Regions from separate parts of the Homo sapiens genome. Here region 2 is linked to region 1. The links are contacts of gene promoters, found by promoter capture Hi-C in blood cells and fetal thymus (Javierre and others, 2016). All regions are on one chromosome and are shown on one strand. Each heading gives the region's core, a stretch centred on a gene start or on the middle of the fragment in contact. The rest is flanking DNA. Distances are from core to core; before and after follow the strand shown. Region 1 holds the start of ELP6 (elongator acetyltransferase complex subunit 6). Region 2 overlaps SMARCC1 (SWI/SNF related BAF chromatin remodeling complex subunit C1).

What was found. The method cuts DNA at HindIII sites, captures the fragments that hold promoters and counts their contacts. A CHiCAGO score of 5 or more calls a contact.
Region 2: a contact is called between a fragment that was not itself captured here and the fragment with the promoter of ELP6 in region 1, in 1 of 17 cell types (endothelial precursors). The highest score is 6.4, in endothelial precursors.

What each region holds. Positions count from the first base shown.
Region 1 is chr3:47,512,221-47,515,024 of GRCh38, forward strand. ELP6 (elongator acetyltransferase complex subunit 6) reads right to left here and starts at 1,492. Exons shown (of 7, transcript NM_001031703.3): 1 at 1,317-1,492. The coding sequence starts at 1,370. RefSeq lists enhancers at 907-1,016, 1,347-1,456. The HindIII fragment of the contact is 8,136 bases long and covers 1-2,804 here.
Region 2 is chr3:47,768,236-47,771,295 of GRCh38, forward strand. All of the region lies in intron 2 of SMARCC1 (SWI/SNF related BAF chromatin remodeling complex subunit C1), which reads right to left. Among named protein-coding and RNA genes, the nearest start is that of SMARCC1, 12 kb to the right of the region's middle. The HindIII fragment of the contact is 1,891 bases long and covers 639-2,529 here.

The sequences.
Region 1 (2,804 bases), core at 242-2,741:
TCATTAGGAAGACAAAGATTATGAATAAACCAGGCTGGGCGTGGTGGCTCACGCCTGTAATCCCAGCACTTTGGGAGGCAGAGGCGGGCGGATCACCTGAGGTCAGGAGTTCCAGACCAGCCTGGCCAACATGGTGAAACCCCGTCTCTAACAAAAAATACAAAAAAAAATCAGCCAAGTAATTAGCCCGGTGTGGTAGCGCACGCCTGCAATCCCAGCTACTTGGGAGGCTGAATAAGGAGAATCACTTGAACCCGGGAGGTGAGGTTGCAGGGAGCCGAGATCGCGCCAGTGCACTCCAGCCCAGGCGAGGGAGCGAGACTCCATCAAAAATAAATAAATAAATAAATAAGCCAAAAGATACACTCCTGAAAGAGGTTACTCCTACGTTAAAATGTGAAAGGTTTCAAGGTACCCCGGAGTGTGAGGAGGGTGGAGAGAACAGGCCAGCCTGGGGTGCCCAAGACGGACTTGGTCCAAGCCAATTTGGCTCTGTCCTGCTTCTAACAGTTCTATTAGAGATCACAAGGAGGAAGAGTAAGAAGAACAGCAGCGTTCAATACAATGTGCCAATTGCTCCGGGGCGAGGTGGCGGTTAGGAAGCTCGCCCATGAAGACGGCGGCGAAACGAACTCCCCTCTCCTCTCGGGCCTATTCTGCAGTCTCCTCTGAGCGCCTGGGACCCCCCACCCCAGTGAACATGCACAGCGCGCCACAGTTCACGTCCGCGAATATAACCCAACCCCACTGTCGGCCATGCTTCCCAGGTACTTTTTTTTTTTTTTTTTGAGGTGGAGTCCCGCTCTGTCGCCCAGGCTGGAGTGCGGTGGCGAGATCTCGGGTCACTGCAACCTCCGCCTCCCGGGTTCAAGCAATTCTCCTGTCTCAGCCTCCCGAGTAGCTGAGATTACAGGCATGAGCCACCACGCCCGGCTAATTTTTGTATTTTTCGTAGAGACGGGGGTTTCACCATCTTGGCCAGACTTGTCTCGAACTCTTGACCTTAGATGATGCACCCGCCTCGGCCTCCCAAACTGCTGGGATTACAGGGGTGAGCCACCGCGCCCGGCCGCTTCCCAGGGACTTTTAAGGACACGCACAGCCGTTGAGAATATGCGAGATGGCCCAGAAGCCCACTTTCGGCGGGCCCAAGCCTCCAGTCCAATCCCCGGGTCGATCCTCTGCGGACTACAACTCCCAGGTACCCCGTGCCGGGTCGTCGCGCCATTCCCCGGGGTCGTGCGCACCGCCTCCCGGATGCAGTATTCCGCTGCCCTGCCAGGTCCCGCCCCCTTCCGGCCAGCGGGACCTCTTACCTGCTCCGCCCTGTCGGGGGTGGTGTTAAGCAGGTTATTAAGTTCCACGAACATTCCGAGCTCCTGGGACTAGCGCTCTGGAGGAGAACCCGGAGTGCTGCAGAGACGACGGAGGCTGGAGAGCAAAACACACCCGACAGCCCGGCTCGCGCAAGGAAGCGCGCATGCGCAATGCCACTTTTGCGAGCCAGCCACAGCCAATGAGGCGGGTGCCTCGATGGGACCGCTGCGCACGCGCGTAGACGTCCGTCGAGTCCCAGGTGGTAGGAAACGATGGGCTTCTCTGTGCGACTGCCAGCGGCCTCTGGCGGCTCATTCCGCGCAGATCTGCGTGGCGCCCGAGCCCTCCCAGTGGGCCCCCAAGGCTCCACGCGACCGAGTATTCTTCTTCCCTTGGCCTCGCTCTCTGCCCAGCCCCGGGCTCCTTTTCTCCACACGTGGCTGTCAAGCGCCTTCTGTATGCCCCACACTCCTGGGAGCTTGGGCTACATCGATGAACAAAAACAAAGGACAGGGAATTTATTATTATTATTATTATTATTATTATTATTATTATTATTTAATTGAGACGGAGTCTTGCCCTGTCGCCCAGGCTGGAGTGCAGTGGCGCGATCTCGGCTCACTACAGTCTCCGCCTCCTGGGTTCACGCCATTCTCCTGCCTCAGCCTCCCGAGTGTAGCTGGGACTACAGGCGCCCGCCACCACGCCCGGCTAATTTTTTGTATTTTTAGTAGAGACGGGGTTTCACCGTGTTAGCCAGGATGGTCTTGATCTCCCGACCTCGTGATCCGCCGGCCTCGGCCTCCCAAAGTGCTGGGATTACAGGCATGAGCCACCACGCCCGGCCGACACGGAATTATATCTTGAAAAGTTGTGTGGAGAAAAGCAAAGTGGGATTAGAGAGTACCAATGGGGGCAGGGGTAGGTTCCAGAATTAAAGAGGTTGTCAGGGTGGGTCTCACTAAGAAAGTGTGGTTGCGGCTGGGCGCGGTGGCTCACACCTGTAATGCCAGCACTTTGGGAGGCCTAGACGGAGGGATCACGAGGTCAGGAGTTCGAGACTAGCCTGGCCAATATAGTGAAACCCCCTTCTCTATTAAAAATACAAAAAATTAGCCTGGCGTGGTGGGGGGCGCCTGTCATCCCAGCCACTCGGGAGGCTGAGCCAGTAGAATCGCTTGAACCTGGGAGGCAGAGGTTGCAGTAAGCCGAGATCACGCCATTGCTCTCTAGCCTGGGCAGCAGTGTGAGACTTCGTTAAAAAACAGTGTGGTTGCAACACGCCCTGTATGCCTGTCCTCAGAGCCTTTATACTAACTCTTCCCTCTTCCTGGAATGCCCCTTTTCCCAGATATTAAGCTGATTTTAAAATTCCCCACTTCCTTCAGGTCTCTGCTCCGATGTCACTTTATTCGTGAGGCCTTCCCTGAGCACCTTACTTAAATCACAAACTGTCCCTTTCCCAACACTTCTTTTTCCTTGCTTTT
Region 2 (3,060 bases), core at 334-2,833, 260 kb after region 1:
CTCATCGAATTTTGTTTTATACCATTATGGATTGTATCAATCCCTTTCATCTGGGAAAGTGTTGAACACCATTTTGAGAGGAAGGCAAGTACATCGGTTCCCAGTGGCACTAAACCAGGAATTGTTTTTAATTACGGCTTCTGCCTAAAAATATTCTTCCCTAATATTTTAAAATCTGGAACTAAATAATGGTTTAGTTCCCAGGAGTCAAATAGCCTACATATAACACTCTCTGAAAACACCATTTTTGAAAAGATTCATACATTCCTAATTAAGAATCCCAATATAATTTCAATCGTATTATGTAAAATACTTTATATAATGTAATCTGTAATTTTACTCTAAATTATGTTACAATTAATAAAGTGCAATCAATATGTACTATATTATAGTGAATTAAACTATTGAAAACCTCAATCAATAGCTAATTTGATAATTCTAGCCCAGTTCATAATGTAAGAGAACAGGAAATGAATACTTTAGCTGTAAAGGAACATGGAACTTTCAAATTTTTCACACATAAAATACATAACACACACACATCCCACAGAAAATGATAATGATAAAGCAAATGGGTAAAATGTTAACTGTAGATTCTGAGTGAAGAGAAAATAAAAGTTCTTCATACTAATCTTGTAAGCTTTTACTTTTAAGTATGTTTAAATTTTTGTTATAAAAAACATCAGGCAGCTAGCTGGGAGCGGTGGCTCACATCTGTAATCCCAGCACTTTGGGAGGGAGAGGTGGGCAGATCACCTGAGGTCAGGAGTTCAAGACCAGGAGTGGCCAACCTGGTGAAACCTTGTCTCTACTAAAAATACAAAAATAAGCCAGGCATGGTGGCAGGCACCTGTAGTCCCAGCTACTGGGGAGGCTGAGGCATGAGAATTGCTTGAACCCAGGAGGCGGAGGCTGCAGTGAGCCGAGATCGCACCACTGTACTCCAGCCTGGATGACAGAGCGAGACTCCGTCTCAAAAAAAAAAAAAAAAAAAAAAAGGGCCGGGCACAGTGGCTCACGCCTGTAATCCCAGCACTTTGAGAAGCAGAGGTGGCCGGATCATGAGGTCAGGAGTTCAAGACCAGCCTGGCCAAGATGGTGAAACTCTGTGTCTACTAGAAAATACAAAAATTAGCCGGGCGCAGTGGCAGGTGCCTGTAATCCCAGCTACTTAGTAGAGACGGGGTTTCACCTTGTTAGCCAGGATGGTCTCGATCTCCTGACCTCGTGATCCGCCCTCCTCAGCCTCCCAAAGTGCTGGGATTACAGGCATGAGCCACCGCACTCCGCCAACCATAACACTTTTATGTGTTGCCACCACTACCTGAAAATCCCATCCTCCCCCACTTAGCTGAAGAACTCACACTCAACTTTCAAGACACAATTCAAATGTCCTTTTCCACAGAAATATTTCCTGACATCACCAAGTAAGTCAAAGGCTCTACTCACACAGCTCATTAGACTGTGAGTCCCCTGAGGACAAATAATATAAAGTATTTGTTTGTATTCTTAGGACCCTGCACCTAATCAAATTCTTAACATTTGCTGAGCTGCAATCAGTGGAGAAAAGGAGCCCTTTTAAATAAACTTTTCTGGAATAACCAGATAACCATAAGGAAAAACAGAAAAATGGATCTGCCATTTCCCACACTAACTACCAGGGCAAATCCTAAATGGATAAGAGAGTGACATGTAAAAATAAGGCTGGGGCCGGGCACGGTGGCTCACGCCTATAATCCCAGCACTTTGGGAGGCCGAGGCAGGCAGATCACGAGGTCAGGAGATTGAGGCCATCCTAGCTAACACAGTGAAACCCCGTCTCTACTAAAAATACAAAAAAAAAATTAGCCAGTGTGGTGGTGGGCGCCTGTAGTCCCAGCTACTCGGGAGGCTGAGGCAGGAGAATGGCATGAACCCGGTAGGCAGAACTTGCAGTGAGCTGAGATTGTACCACTGCACTCTAGCCTGGGTGACAGAGTGAGACTGTCTCAAAAAAAAAATAAATAATAAGGCTGAGCATGGTTACTCATACCAGTAATCCCAGGACTTTGCAAAGCCAAGGCAGGAAGATCACTTGAGCCCAGGAGTTCAAGACCAGCCTGGGACCAGGCACAGTGGCTCACACCTATAATCCCAGCACTTTGGGAGGCTGAGGCGGGTGGATCACCTGAGATCAGGAGTTCGACACCAGCCTGGTCAACATGGTGAAACCCCGTCTCTACTAAAAACACAAAAAAATTAACCAGGCATGGTGGCAGGTGCCTGAATTCCCAGCTACTCGGGAGGCTGAGGTACAAGACTCACTTGAACCTGGGAAGCAGAGGTCGTGGTGAGCTGAAATTGCACCACTGCACTGCAGCCTGGGCAACACAGCAAGACTTTGACTCCAAAAAAAAGATCAGCCTAGGCAACACAGCAACACCCCGTCTCTATCTTTATAAATTAAAATTAAAAAAAGGTAAAAAATGAAATCATACAAGTACTAAAAGAACACATTGCTGAATTCCTTTATAACCTAGGAATGATAAAAGCTTCCCAATTATAATTCAAAATGAGAAAAGTAACCACATCAATATATTTAACTAAATTTCTTTAACTTTTTGGATAATAAAAACATCACAGACAAACACATTTACAGCAAGATCACCGAAACAATACTATTTTTTAAAATTTTATTTATTTATTTATTTTTTTGAGATGGAGTCTCACTCTGTCGCCCAGGCCGGAGGCAGTGGCGCAATCTCGGCTCACTGCAAGCTCTGCCTCCCGGGTTCATGCCATTCTCCTGCCTCAGCCTCCCAAGGAGCTGGGACCACAGGCACCCGCCACCACGCCCGGCTAATTTTTGTACTTTTAGTAGAGATGGTGTTTCACCTTGTTAGACAGGATGTTCTCAATCTCCTGACATCGTGATCCGCCCACCTCAGCCTCCCAAAGTGCTGGGATTACAGGCATAAGCCACGACGCCCCGCCTATTATTTCTTATTCTCAATTATATTTGAAAGATCAGTAAGTTGTTAAACGATTTAGTGATCAAGAACAGTCCCCACAAAAAAGGTC